Linked DNA regions of Homo sapiens: region 2 is linked to region 1. The links are contacts of gene promoters, found by promoter capture Hi-C in blood cells and fetal thymus (Javierre and others, 2016). All regions are on one chromosome and are shown on one strand. Each heading gives the region's core, a stretch centred on a gene start or on the middle of the fragment in contact. The rest is flanking DNA. Distances are from core to core; before and after follow the strand shown. Region 1 holds the start of NBEA (neurobeachin). Region 2 has its middle 210 kb from the start of LINC02344.

Evidence for each region. Contacts are between HindIII fragments. The CHiCAGO score rates a contact against its expected background, and 5 or more counts as called.
Region 2: a contact is called between a fragment that was not itself captured here and the fragment with the promoter of NBEA in region 1, in 1 of 17 cell types (total B cells). The highest score is 6.5, in total B cells.

The regions. Positions count from the first base shown.
Region 1 is chr13:34,938,976-34,946,314 of GRCh38, reverse strand. It overlaps NBEA (neurobeachin), which reads right to left and starts at 4,045. Exons shown (of 59, transcript NM_001385012.1): 1 at 3,201-4,045. The coding sequence starts at 3,494. It overlaps LOC124903231 (a long non-coding RNA gene), which reads left to right and starts at 4,125. Exons shown (of 2, transcript XR_007063908.1): 1 at 4,125-4,175; 2 at 4,613-4,994. RefSeq lists silencers at 2,405-2,494, 3,554-3,673, 4,114-4,183 and an enhancer at 4,354-4,463. The HindIII fragment of the contact is 4,572 bases long and covers 2,217-6,788 here.
Region 2 is chr13:33,536,811-33,544,149 of GRCh38, reverse strand. It overlaps a transcript of STARD13 not described here. Among named protein-coding and RNA genes, the nearest start is that of LINC02344, 210 kb to the right of the region's middle. RefSeq lists enhancers at 1,034-1,143, 1,244-1,343. The HindIII fragment of the contact is 6,829 bases long and covers 908-7,339 here.

The DNA.
Region 1 (7,339 bases), core at 2,796-5,295:
AGATTAGGTAGTACGCCAGTTTTACAACTGAAAACAATCAACAAAATCTCTTCTCTGTAGTTAAATTCTCTTATATTGCCACTTTAAATAATTCCTCCAGAAGCCAAACTTTGTTAACGATCAGTTTCTTTCATTAGTAGAGCTACAATGCAAAATCCTTGACAATGCACTCTGACTGTAACTTTATTCACAAACTAATTTACCTACCTTCCTAACATTATCCATTCCATATTTCACTGTTTTAAGTCAACTATAACATCATTATACAAAATACATACATCTCTAATAAAAATGACTAATTTTATATCATATCACATTGGTGATTCCTCACCAAACTCCCACAATCCACCTAGTAGTAAAAATAGGTCTCTAGACCTTTGGGAAACAAAGCAGAAAAATTACAGCCACCGCTCTGTTGAAGAAGTCCTACACTTTAGTGCATGCTTAAAACTTCACTCTGCCCAGCTTTTAATTCTTTGGCCAAGGCATGTGAGAAACAGCACCTAAAAACCAAGTATTTATGAGTATCCTTACATAGGAAGAAAAAATAAACAGGAAAAAGAAAGAAAAATATACTGACAAAGGCGACTGAGACAAAGGTATTGTTTAAGGTAGAAACTCCTCTTTTTTTTGAAGTTTCATTAGTTCTCCTTTCTTTTCTGTCATTCAGGGCACAGTAATAGGTATTTCACTATTTCACCTTACATTTTTATTTAATGTGTTAAACTAAAACTGAAAATTTTAAAAAATCATTTTAGATTTAATATTAAAGGTTTCCAAACTCTAACGAGTCACTGAGTGTCCTATATGAATTTTATTGGTTTACTTACTAAATAAATAGAATTAAGTTTGATAATCAGTTTTTTAAATGCCCATGACTTCCACATATTTTTGAGAATCCACTTAAATTTTCATATGACATTTTCATGAGTGTATTGGACAATAAAGCCCTAAATCTACAGTTCAAGAAAATTACACTTCAAATGACTAATTTATACTCCACAATTAATATAATTAACAACTTAGTAATAAACAGCTCCTTTTGTCATTTATTCTTTTCTCCAAAAGTTTCTATTTAAAAATCTATTGCATTCTTTAAATACATACAAAGAAATTTTAAACCTAACTCTTTAAATTCCAAATATCATTGCAGTTACAAAATCTTAGGTAGATTTGGGGATATACTATCTCAGTATTACTTTATTTCTAGTGACTCTAAGCTTAATGGTAAAGTTCTCTAAAATAACGTCTGCATACTGAAACTTCATGTCAGATTTTCATTGCTCTGAAGAGTTAAATTTCTTTTTTATCTCAAGAGAAACATTTCACTTCCTTTCTTAGTCTACCGTATATCTAAAAAACCCCATCTGTTAAGAACTGATTCAGCACACATTGCTACTGCTGCAGAGTCCAAACTGGTTATACATTCAAATCAGTTTCCAGGTTGTGAAAGCTCTACTGCCTCTTACCAGGTTAAAATGTATTAAGTAAGCATAGGAATACTTACTAAAATAGCCTAATATAATCTAACTTAAAAATGATATTGGTTAGATCAAAACTGCAACTAAAAATGTGTTCCTTTAAATTACAGAAATACAGTTACCTGCTAACATACTAACAGTTTGAGATTTATCTTCTTTTAAAAAGAAATGGCAAGTACTGACCTCTTATTTGCAGCTAGTTAAAATTAAAACTCAAGAAAACTGTATTTCTAGTAGTGTTCTGAAAAGAACTTGGTTATATCAACTTAGTGACATTCCCTCAAACTTACACTGACTTTTCATGATGATTTATTTGAAAGGTACAAAAAAGTAAAAAGAGGTGTTTTGTTTTAAACAGCAATGAATATAACAAAGACAGATAATCTCCTTTGACCTGACACACTAGCAAAAGGAAAAAAACAGCTTCAACTTTTCTGTGCATTTACGAGGTTCATAAACCGTAGACATTATCTAATGCATGTCTCAGGACACCACTGATGTAGCTGCAGCTTTCTCTCAGTTTTCCAATAGAGTAAGTAAAAATAATTGCTTAGCTGAAAAATGACTGCATGGGTGTTACAAAGTACCCCTGTAAGCATATTGTTATATTCCTGTGACCCCACACCAAATACAATACTCAACTGATTGCTCTCGATTTATGTCTTGCCTCCCAAAGCCCAACCTTACAGTATGTCAAAGACTAGATCTATTGCAGAGAAAACTGTTTAAAAAGCTTGGCTGCATTTAAAAACAAAACAAAACAAAACAAAACCTCCATTTACAAAGCACTAAATATGAACTACTGTTAATTATCCTCAATGTATGATTCTCCTCTCCTTCTTTCCATTTCTTTCCCTGACATCTTAAACGCTTCTGAGCCTCTCTGTAGATAGCGCAAAACATTAAGTCATACACACTTCTGCAGTAACTCTTTCTTACCATGAAAGGAACCAAAACCTAGGGCTGCGTTTAAAACCTTTCCTTTAGTCTTTACCCACATGCCACACTACTGAAAGTAACCACAGAAATCAACCTGTGTGATTTGGTGTCCTCACACACCTTGTGTGCACAAAAAATGACTAAGAGATCAGTATATTCAGGGCAATATTACAAAGAAGGGACGGCTGCTTCTGAGATGGAGGGGGATGGATACAGACACAACACTCTCCATCATGGCCTTGGAATATTTAAAGACAGATGCAAAACTGCATCATTTTCTGTCTCCTTCGAAAACATCACACCCCAGCTGCTCAAGTTGGAAGCTAATGCGCTTCTCACATTTCAGCAGCACGGGGGAATTTAGGCTCCAGGGGCAAGGCTGTCATCCTCGGAGAGCGACACCAAGGACAATTAAGTGTGAGAAAAAGAACCCCAGAGAACAGGAGGCCTCCTCACCTCCTAACTAAACTCTAAAGTCGACCCAAAACCTTCACCGCGGGTACTGGGTTACTCGCGGTCCTAAAAAGTGAGAAGAAGCGGTGTTAAGTTGGGCACTGCGCTCAGGTGGCAGGAGAGGACCAGAAAGAGGAGAGGAGGGAGGTGGCGTGGCTCTAGCAGCGCGCAGGCAGGTCACCCGCTGGGCAATACCGGCTGAACGCTCTGCGCTCCCAGGGACGCGCGGCGCGTGTGACCCTGGGGGTGAAGGGTGGGAGGGAAAGGCGCTGGGGACGGTGTATGTGGGGACTGGGGAAGCAGATTGAGAGCACGCCTTTTCCTTACCAGGTTGAGCACCGTCTCCACGATGTCCCTGTTGCTGACCTCTCCGACCTGTATGAGTCCAATCAACACTGCGAATTTCATCCGGATGTTGCGGATCGGCACCGAAGGGTTAATCATCCCCGCGGGGAGCATCACCGAGCCGGAGCCGGACGCCCCCCTTAGCTCCCCCATCCCGCTGCCCCCGGTGCCGCCACCACCGCTGCCCCCGCCGCCTCCGCCAGCGGCCCCGACGGCAATGAGCCCCACGGGCTGAGGCTCGAGCCCCGGGCCCGGGCCCGGCTTCTCGCTAGCCATTGGCCCCCCTCCTGAGGAGAAGGGAAGAGCAGCGGCGCTGCCGCCGCCGGTACCGTTATACCTGCCTCGGCCCCCGCCCCCCGGCCGTCGCCTCGGAGCCCCAGCATCCACCAGCGCCGCGGCGCCGGGCCCGCTCCCCGCCTGCGCCTCAGCCCGGCCCGCTCCGGCGCTCTCCCCCGCGGAGGCGGCGGGGGATCCGCAGGCTTATTCTCGGCGGTGGCGGTACCGCTAACCGCTGCCGGGCAAGCGGCTGTGCCCGCCCAGCAGGTGTGCCGCTGCCGCTGCCGCTGCCGCCGCCGCTGCCTCTGCTCTCTCCCTCTCCCGGTCTGTCCGGCCCGGCCCGCCCCCCGCGGAGATGCTGCAGCCGCTCCGAGAAGCCCGAGGACGCGAGCAGCTGGCCACGACGCTGGCCGGTGCTGAAGCTCAGGCTGTGGCCGATGCTATTGACGCTGCTGCCGCCGCTGCTACGGCCACCACTGTTGTTGTGAAGCCCCGACGCCGCCGCTCACTCCGCCATGTTGCCGCCCCCTGCCTGCGGTAGCAGCCACTGCGCCTGCGCACAGCCTCCGGGGGGGCGGAGCCCTCGGTGCACCCCCTCTTTTGCCCTGCCCTCCTTCTCTTCCCACCCACCCACCCCGACACCCCTCGTCCCTCCCCCAACCACCCCGAACGGATAGACAGGTGAGCAGGTGCATGGGGACTGCTGCCAGACACTGGGGCAAGCTGGCAGAGGCGGGGCGGGTAGTGGCTTCCTTGTGGTTTTTCCCTTGAGGGCGGATTCTCCCTTTGGGGAAGGACACAGTGTGCATGTCTTGCCTTCGCTGCCACCTCCTCCTTCTCTCAATATCCTCTTGCTGGGAGGAGGTTCCTCATCTCAGTTGTTGCATCCAGCTGCTGCTACTGCCAGTGCCACGTGCCTTGTAAGGTAGGGGAGTGGCAGACGACCTCTTTCTGCCCCTCCTCGCCCTTCCTCGCAGTCCTGTCCGCCTGCCCTCCCTAGAATTTCCCAAAGAAAAAGTGGCTGGCAAAGCAGAAACAAACGCGCGGGGGGGCGGGGGGGCGATCCTGCATTGTCGGGGGAAGAATACAGACGGAGTGTAATGGTGCTTTTTCTACAGCCATGAAAGAGGCTGACACCTGCACACTCAGGCACGACTTAAAATAGAACTTGTCAAACAGTGATCCTCTCTGGATCAAGCTCGGAACAACAAACAGCTCTTGAACTCGCCTCCCAGCCTAAAAAGACTGCAGTGTGTGACACTGTGGGGTAGTTTGGTGGGAACGACAAATCCCACACTTTCAAAATCCTGACAATCCTCAGGTATGATGCCAATTATTAATGTTTCCTTTTTTCACAGGCACGTACAATTCAGAGGACTTTCGAAATTATCTAAAAACATGGGTGATTCTCACTGCCAGCCTTGTCTGTGAGAAAAGTACATATCTATGTCTGCACAGATACGAGACAAAAAATAAACCTTTAATTTTTAAAAATTAAAATGTACACAGTAATCTTGCTGTTAGTATTGAATTAAAACTAAATAGGCATGACTGTTCCTTGAAAGGAATGATATAATTTTCTTTAATATTTCATGAGGTCTTCCCTTTTCAATAAAGATTATTGCAAGTCACCAGAAATATTAGGTATCTTGAGGTATATTCAGATCGTTTTAATTGTCCTCTCAAATGAAAAAGGTCAATATACAAATCCACCATAATCAGTTTTGTTATTATTCATATTTAATTGGACCTGCCAGTCAAGTTAACTCCCAGGATATGGGAACACGGTAAAATTCTAAGTACCACAGGTTATAAAAAAGTTCCTCAAAACCAGTACTTAGGATGAATTCTTGGTTGCATGTCTGTTTGTTTAAACTTGCACCAAAGTGATTGAATTGTTAAAGTAGTTAAGCAAACACTTCTGAAAGCAGTGGTAACTAGCATGTCCATTTAAATTAAATGGCAATTGAATTATAAAATGCTAGAATGCTTGAAACTGTACGGGAAATTTACAAAACATACAAGTCATAATAGTATGACTTGAGATATACTATATAATTGAAAAATCCTGTAACGTTTATATCCTTCTACTACATTTTTGTCTGTCCCAAGTGAGTATCATCTGCTTTTAAGAGTACTGTTTCATTTGCAAATTTAAAATGATATCTTTGTAAAATACATAAATCTAGACTGAAAGGTTGTCACACTAAGTTTTTTTACCCACTGTGCATATATCTATATGGCAGCAGGTTCTACCTTTTGCTATTTTTAGACTTCTTGCATGAGTACTTTGAGAGACAGTGACAACCTGAACTTTCTATTTCCTTTCTGAATGAATAGCTTAACATCATTTTTAACATTTCCATTTTGATTTTTCTTGTATTTTTTCTTAAGTAGTATGTATATGCAGTTGGTTGTATTTTTCTGCTCATTTTTCTTAGTGAAGATAGTGAGTGGGTAAAGATAATATCACCATTTCTAAGTAGGAAAACTCCACTTCTTTTGCCTACTTAATTCAATTTCAGAGATATTTAAAAGAGCTTACCAATTAAAAATCTTTCTCCAGTAGACAATCAGCTCCTCGCAGGCGCTATGATACTGTGGAAAGTGCATGATTCTTTGAGTCATAGTTACAACTTACTACCTTTGCAGTCTACTCAAGCTATTTGAGTTTCAGTCTCCTGGTTCCTTAAGTAGGAATGATAATATGTGTTTCATAGGGAAGTAAGAATTCCATAAAATAATTTCAGCTGAGCAGCTAGCATATAGTCAATGTGTCTTTGTGTCCTTAGTATACAGGCATGTGTGTTGCATGACCTATAAACACATGTAATACCAATTATAACCACATACAAGTCTGCATAATTGCACAGTTATATGTCTTCCATACCATCCCAAAAGCATAAAGTTCAGAAAAGTCAACAGGTCTATTTCTTTTTGGCCTACAAAACCTTTTCCCGGAAAATGTGCAAATAACTTTACATTTACATTAACAATATTTTGAAAGAAAAGCTACATAATAATAGAAGATACCCAATATGTATATTTTTAAATCTCCAGATTAAAAAATATATTTTATGTGGTGAATATTAATTTTGTATGCATTTTTGCATACCCATACTTCCTAAGGACAATCATTCAAAGATAAGAAACCTGTGAATCTGAGTTTCAGGAAGCAATATTGCAGAGAGGTTGAGAAGTCATGCCCCAGATTCAATGGAAGCTGGATTTAGATTCTAGTTCCACCACCACTTATATGTGTGATGTTGGGAAAATGACTTTAGCTTCAAAGCTTCAGTTTACTCAACCCAAAGTAAGGATGATAATACTACTTTATAGGATTAAAGGAGCTAATACATTTAACGTACTTAATGTAGTAGTAAGTGGCAATCAATAATGTTTCCCTTCATTGGCTGCCGGAAAATACCCACAGTTATTTTGTGTCATTATTTTTGGGTTTTTTTTTTTTTTGCACCTACCTTGCCTGACATAATTTACATTGAATAAATATGTTCAAAAATGAATGGATGGAAACAGCCGTTCTCCACACTATTCCCGTTTCCTTCACCTGTTCTTTAAAGAACACATTTCTTGCTTTCCTCTAAACTTTATCTGAACAGAATACTCCAAATTCAATGTGGGTTTAGACCTGTATAAAACAGAGGGAAATTCTTACCTCACCCTCAACCTTTAGCAATATAGCTCCTGTTAATGTTGCCCCAAATCAAATTAGATCTGTTTGGTTTGTTTTGGTTTTGGATTTTTTTCTTAACATGACACTAATGATTCGTGTAATGTAGTAATGATTCACATTTGGCACGTAGTAGGTTCTCAAATAATTTTGG
Region 2 (7,339 bases), core at 3,073-5,572, 1.4 Mb after region 1:
TATTTTGTCCTTAATTTTAGTCATTTCTAATTTAACAGCTAAAGAACAATTACTGTATAATAACTGAAATATTTAGTATACTTGGTATTACAGCACCCTCTATCACATGATCATATACAGAATACATTTCTATGAACTGGTTGCTTTAATCTGTGAACATTTATGTAGCTCTCTACTGGTTCTAGGGTTTAGTTTACTACTTCCCATCCACGGAGTCAAAAGGACTACTAACTTGTGCAGGCTTAGTATCACCAGTATATTTTAGTACCGTCTGTCCTGCAACAGCAAAAAGCATTATTGACAAAGCAATCCTGAACTCTAAATTATTCCAGGTGTGGTCCTAGTACCAACAGCATCAGAATCACCTGAGATTTTACTAGAGCTACACTAATCCAGCTGTATCCTCAGACCTTCCCTCCCAGTTATAACCTCTGGTGTTGAGGCCCAGCAATCTGTTTTAACAAGCCTTCTAGAGAATCTGGATGCATGCTCCAGTTTGAGAAGCATTACTATAGGAGAAATACAATCAAAGAGTCAAGTTAACATGTGCTATCTAAACTCTAAAGGAAATTTGTTTCATTATATATTTTGATATCCACAGCACCATTCCAATAAAACATTTAGAACAACTCTGTTAGTACTCCAAGATTACAGGAAAAAAAGAACATTATTAAAGGAAAATGTGTTGATTTTACTAACTTTGGGGAAATTACTTTTCCTTTCTCTGATTATCTAAAAGAAACGTGACATGCAAACGAATCTACATTGAGCATTTCTGAGGCTACCTTTCTGAAACTTCCATGGCCTATTTTAAAGCAAATTACTACATTCTGCTTCTCGATGGGTTCCTAACATACACAGCAGGCTTTTACAACAGCGCTTTAATAGGCCAAAGGAAACAAAAGCTTTTACAGCAGAGGCCAATGTAAGCCACAAAGCTCGTGTCATCTTCCTACCAGGCAATTAATACAGGGTCCCAGTCCTCAAAGATTAAAGAACTGATACGGGGAAGACTGAGAATGACCCAGCAACAACGCATAAGGAAGCAAAAAATAAAAGGACGCCGTTTCTTCTGGACTTAAAACTAGAGAAAGAACAGTTTCCGCTCCATTTTGGGTTTGTAAAGCTCCTCCTACAGGCAGCTTCCGCTTCAGAGTCGCCACAAAGTCCCTCCCGCGCGGGAACTCGGCGGGGCGGAGACTCGGGTCCCTCCCCGTCCAGGGCGGGAGAAAGGAAAGCAGGGGCCACGGTTTCTCTGGAAGGTTCCGAGAGAAGGGCGCGTGCCACCTCCGCGGGTGGCGGGAGACTCGGCACCAGATGGCGCTGCCGCACCGAGAGCCAGAGCCTGGGCCGCTGGGGAGACGGGAAGAGGCGTCACCGGATCCCTTCCTTTGCGCTCGTTGCCGGAAATGTGCGCTGCAACCAGCCTCTGGTCCCGGATATTAAGACTTCTGGAGGGTTCCCGCGTGAGGGCGGGGCCAGAACCGGAACCGAACGGCGACCGACGAGCCCCGGAGCGGAAACCCGGGGCGGCGCCAGCGGGCCCTGGTTGCTGGTGCGCGCGCCTCGTCTTGGTGGGAGGGCGAGGGGCGGGGTCTCGCCGTGCGCTTGCGCACTTTGGGGACGTAGGCGCGGTCTGCGTGTGCGTCTTTTTCAATGTTTGCACGTTTGCTAGGCAGGCAAGGCGGAAATGGTGGCGTAATGGGTTTTGTTTTAAATCCCGCCCACGGGGTTTGGGTTTCTGGCTGTGAGTCAGGTTTCTGGAAGGCTTTATGGAAAATTAATGGTATAAGAGGTAAAACTGGATCTGTACTGTTTTCTTAGTCCTTAGCGATCCAAATGCAGTCTGGGTGCGGTCTCAGTGCTAAGATGGACCCAGCCTTCCCCTCTAAATCTTAGTGAACCGGCTTGATCCCCCGGTCTGTTCATCTTTCAGTGTTTATTCTGAGAAGGTAGGGGTGTCACAAGGAATAAAAAAGGCACGCAAACAAATAGACTACTCGTGTGGAACCAAAAACATTTTCAAATTATTTAAGAAAGCATGTCTTCGTGTTTTTTAAACTTTTTAGCAAGCGATTCTCTTAAGGAGTTTAGTTTTTAATTTTTGTCGATACACAGTTTTATATTCTGTGTTTTCTGGTGTGGCCTTGGTCTTTTATCAAATTTTAAAGGAAAGCCTCTTGTGCAGATGTGTTACAAAGAAAAATTTTGTCATTTTTTCACTTTTGAATTTTGGAGGACCATAGTAGTTTCTGAAAGTGCATTGGCTTTGTTTTTAGATGCTGCAAGGAAACAACCAAGTGTGTTGCAGAAATAAAATCTGTATGAATCTGCATCCGCTCCGTTTAATTTTAAACTAATTCCAAAAATGTCATCTGTGCAAAGTGCTCAGTTCTCCTGGAAAATTTCTTCAGCCTTGGTAAACACTTTTATCTGGATTTCAAAGCTCTTTGCAGTCCAGGGCCTATATAAAAACAATCCTTGTAAAAGCCAGAGGGAAAGGAATACAGGCTTTTAAGTAGATATTTTGAAAGAAACAGCAGTGGGCCGGAGGATATAAGAAAGATTGTCCGAAATTGCCAAATAAGTGTATTTCATTGTTTTTTGCTAAAACCGTTTGATAGTCTGGGTAGTTGGTACTGGAAAAAACGCTGCTGTGACGTGAGGAGTACTATGGCACCTGTTTATGTAGAAGTTAGGGGGATATTGCAATATCATTCAAGATTGGTCAGAAATAGGGCAAGAAGGAGGCAGGATATCCAAAGGGGAAGAAAAGGGGAAAATGTTGGAAGATACTAGAAAACACGTGAAAGAGGTCAGAGCTGAAGCTGTAATAGGTCTTCAAAGAGTGATCTGGAAGATTGCAAAATAGCTTTTAGACCCTAAAATCAAATGTGTGGAATATGGAATCAGTTTATTTCATCATTGCATACTTCAGCTTTGGCTATATCCCATTTAGTTGCTTACTTTTTTTTTTCGACTTTCCCATCTTTCTCTACATCGTATATAACCAACCTTAAATTGAGGGATTGCTTCATTTTGCTACCATTATACTATAAAGTTACAGTAACATAGCCCTTCACAGTTCAAAGAGTACACATATATTCAGAAATAGTGGCATTGACTCCTTTGCAAATATCCTCAACTCTTATCCCTCACTTTTAGCACTTCCCTGGCAAAACTCAAACCATGGATGAACTCCTGCATGCATTTATCTTTTCTGAGCTTGGGCTCAGCCTGTTAACTGTTGGGTGGACTAGTGTGATCTCACACCTAAATTGGCTCTGCATATTGATCAGCTCTCCTACTCCTTTGCTTTACTGACTTTGCCCTTTCCTTCTGTAATCCAAATATCTCATTCTTTTCCTTCCTCAAATTATCAACTTCCTCAACTAATGACTTTGCCTCACACTTTATTGAAAAAAGAATTGTGAGCATAAGCCAAGAATTTTTGTGTATTCCCACCATCGAATCTATTTGTGTCTGCACTCATCAAACATCCTTGTATAGGAACCCCCTTTATACATGGTATTGCTTTCCATAGTTTCAGTTACCAACTGTCAACCGAGGTCCAAAAATATTTAATGGAAAATTTCAGAAATATAAATTTTAAATTGCTAGAAGTTCTAAGTAGTGTGATGAAATCTCATGCTGCCTCTCTCTGTGCCTCCCAGAACGTGTATCCTCCCTTTGTTCAGCATCCACTATCACAGTTATCAACTATCACCATATCACTGAGCTTGGATTCAAATAACCTATATTTTCCTTAATAATGTCTCCAAGGCCCAATAGTAGTGATACTGGCAATTTGGATATGCCAAAAGAAGCCTTAATGTGCTTCCTTTAAGTGGAAGGTGAAAGTTCTCGACTTAAGGAATCACCTAAGGTCACTAGGAACCAAGTGGTTGGTAAGAATCAGTCTTCTATCTGTGAAATTATGAAGAAAGAAAAAGAAATTCGTGCATAATATATTTAGGGTAGGGTACTCTCTGAGGTTCAGGCATCCACTAGGTTCTTGGAACATTTCCCCTGAAGCTAAGGGGGAACTACTATAGTTTAAAAGGGTGACAGGTCTTTTTATCAAATGCCAACACTTGCTATTTTTAGTTTTTAGTTTTAGCCATTAAGTGGGTATATGTTCAAAACTTTTGCCCATTTTAAAACTAAGTTGTTTGTAATTGAGTTGTAGGAGTTATTTACATACTATGCGTATGACTTTTTTGTCAGAAGTATATGTTGTGAATATTTTTCTCCCAGTCTGTGGCCTGCTTTTTCATTTTCTTAAAAGTGTCTTTTAAAGAGCAGCTTTTGTTTGTAAGTTGTATATTTGTAGGGATTTGTACGTATCCAAATATTCATTAGCATAAAGCTGTTCATAAAATCCTCTCATTTCTGAGATTCACAATATATCTTATTTATGTTTACGATCCACTTAATTTTTAGTATGGCACAATAATGGTTGATAGTCATATTTTTCAAAATAGAAATCCTGTTATTCTGGTAGCATTCGTTAAAAAGATTATCCTTCATTGAATTACCTTGGCACCTTTATTAAAAATCTGCCGATCTTCTGAATTTCTATTCTATTCAATTTCATTGATAAATATGTCTGTTCTTAACCCAGTCCCACACTGTATTGATTACTGTAGCTTTATACGTCTTGAAATCAGATAGTGGAAGTATTTTTTTCCTCAAAATTACTTTGGCCATTCTAAGTCCTTTGCATTTTAATATAAATTTTTAAATTGTCATTTCAATTTCTAAAAACATCTGCTGGGATTTTGAATGGGATTCTGTTAAATTTATTCATCAGCTTGGAGAGAACTGACATCTTAAAAATACTGAGTTTTCCAATCTATGAACATGGCATATATCTCCTTTTATTTTGATCTTTAATTTCTGTTTGTAATTTTCAGCATACAGGTATTGCACATACATTGTTAAGTTTCTTCCAACACATTTCATGGTTTTTATTCTAAGTGTATTTTTTTAGTTTAAGTTTTCAGTTGTTGAATCATTTTATTTTAGTTCTAGAATTTTCTTATGCATAGATTCTACGTCTCTAGTATTAATAAATGCAAGGCCGGGCGCAGTGGCTCACGCCTATAATCCCAGCACTTTGGGAGGCAGAGGTGGGCGGATCACAAGGTCAGGAGATTGAGACCATCCTGGCAAACACGGTGAAACCCCGTCTCTACTAAATATACAAAAAATTAGTCCGGCATGGTGGCAGGCACCTGTAGTCCCAGCTACTCAGGAGGCTGAGGCAGGAGAATGGTGTGAACCCGGGAGGCGGAGCTTGCAGTGAGCCGAGATTATAACACTGCACTCCAGCCTGGGTCACAGAGCCAGACTCCGTCTCAAAAAAAAAAAAAAAATTAAATAGTTTGTGCCCATTAACTCCAGTATTTGGATCATCTGTGGATCTTGTTTCCATTATCTTTTTCTTCTGTTTCCTGGTATGCCCAGAAATTCTTTATGAAATGTTGTCTTTGTTTATGAAAAAAAAAAAAATACTGGGCTCTGAGTGGTGTTTTTTACTTTATGGAAGTATTTGTAGGATTTACTTTTGCTTCTATTAGGAAGCTAGGCTAAGGGCAGAGCACCTTAATCTAATATGGAAGTGAGATTATTTCAAACTGGTTTTTAGACTTTGTTAGGTCTCGTCTATTTCAGGTTCTTTCTTACTCCTGAGGTGACCCTTTCTGTGTCCCAGCTAAAAGCCGAGGTGTTAGGCCTTCCCTCTTTCGTGGGCCCTGAACTCGCATTTTTATTTTCTCAATCAGTGGACTCCTGAAAGCAATCTCTTCTCAGCTTCTCTGCTTCTTAGTTGCCATTATCTGTGTAACTTCTCAGCCTCTGAAACAACTTCCAAATTGATGAATAAGGTAAGGGGAAAAAGAGAGTCAAATATGGGCAGAATTTTCTGCACCCTTCTTCGGGATCTTGCCCTCTCAAGATCCTTTTTGTATTTTACTCAGATTTCCCTAGTTCTTCACGGTTCAGAGGCGGGGTCATTTTTTTTTAAATCCTCGTAATCTGAGAGTCTTTATGCTAATAAAGATAGGCTCATTTTTCTGAACTAGTGTCAATACTTTTTGTTTCTAAACATCAGAAGCAACACAGAAGACATGGAAGTGACTTTCCGTCTTAATTCCAGAGGTGTTTGTGGGGCCTCCTGGCAGTGGTACCCCCTTGCCACAGATGGGTTCCTAGGCAATGCCCTAGTTCTCTTTAGAGTTGGCCTGACTCTGTCTTCTGTATGGGGAAGCACCCTCTGTTCCTTTTGCTGAGAGATCAGGGTAGTTCTGTTTCCAGGCGAGCTAAACATGACTATGCTGTAGCTGTAAATTCAGTCTGTCACCTTTGGTACTCTTAAAATACAAGCATATGTTCTAGTCAGGCAAGAAGAAATACATCTTTTCTTTTCTTTTCCTTGTTGGTTTTTTAATTTTTTTTTTATGCCAGTAAAGAAATATACACTTCCCGGCCAAGCCCGAGAGTGGATTTGATTTTTTACCGTAATTTCAAGGAATAATTATATAAAACATTGCCCACAGGTCTGTGAGTGTACTGTAGAAAGATCGAATGATCAGGACTTAATCCAAGACCCCTCACTTTCTGCATGGGTGTAATTGAGCGTTATTTAACTTTTCTGAGCCTCAGTTTCCCTAAAGTGTCAAATAAGATACCTACTTGCCAAGACTGGGTTTTAATAAGATTGTTTGTAAAATGTCTGATACATAGTGGGTTCTTTATTGTTTTTAAAATTATTTATACAAACAGTTTTAACTTCAAGGGGGAATGTTAGTCATAACTTGTCTGCGTAGCAGCAGTATTTCGGAAACCACAACATTTCCAGATTTCTGCTCATCACTTAGTTTGTTTTATTCAGTAAACACTGATTGGACTCCCACTAAATGCTGAATGCTGCACTAGGACGCAAAACCAATGAAACAATAACCTTTCTCACAGCTATGTAAACAACTTGTTCATTTTATTGAAAGCCGTGCTCAGAACTGTTCTGGAAGTTTACTCATCTGTAGTGCTCAAGTCGTGGTATTTGCTCTCTTGCTGCTATTTAATGAATCCTGAAATTGTTTTTGTAACCTAAAATAAAATTTTTACTATGATAAAATAACCTAAAAGAAAATCTGATTAAAAAGTTTATTTAATGTGGAATAAAATTTAAAGCAGCTCTAATATGAATAGCAAGGGAATTTTGTTACTAACAAACCGATAGAACAATATAATGAGGCAGTTTCACTAAGACTGTATGACAAAATGGAACCTGAACTCTGCTCCAGTGTATTAATAATTAGTGTGACTTTTACAGAGA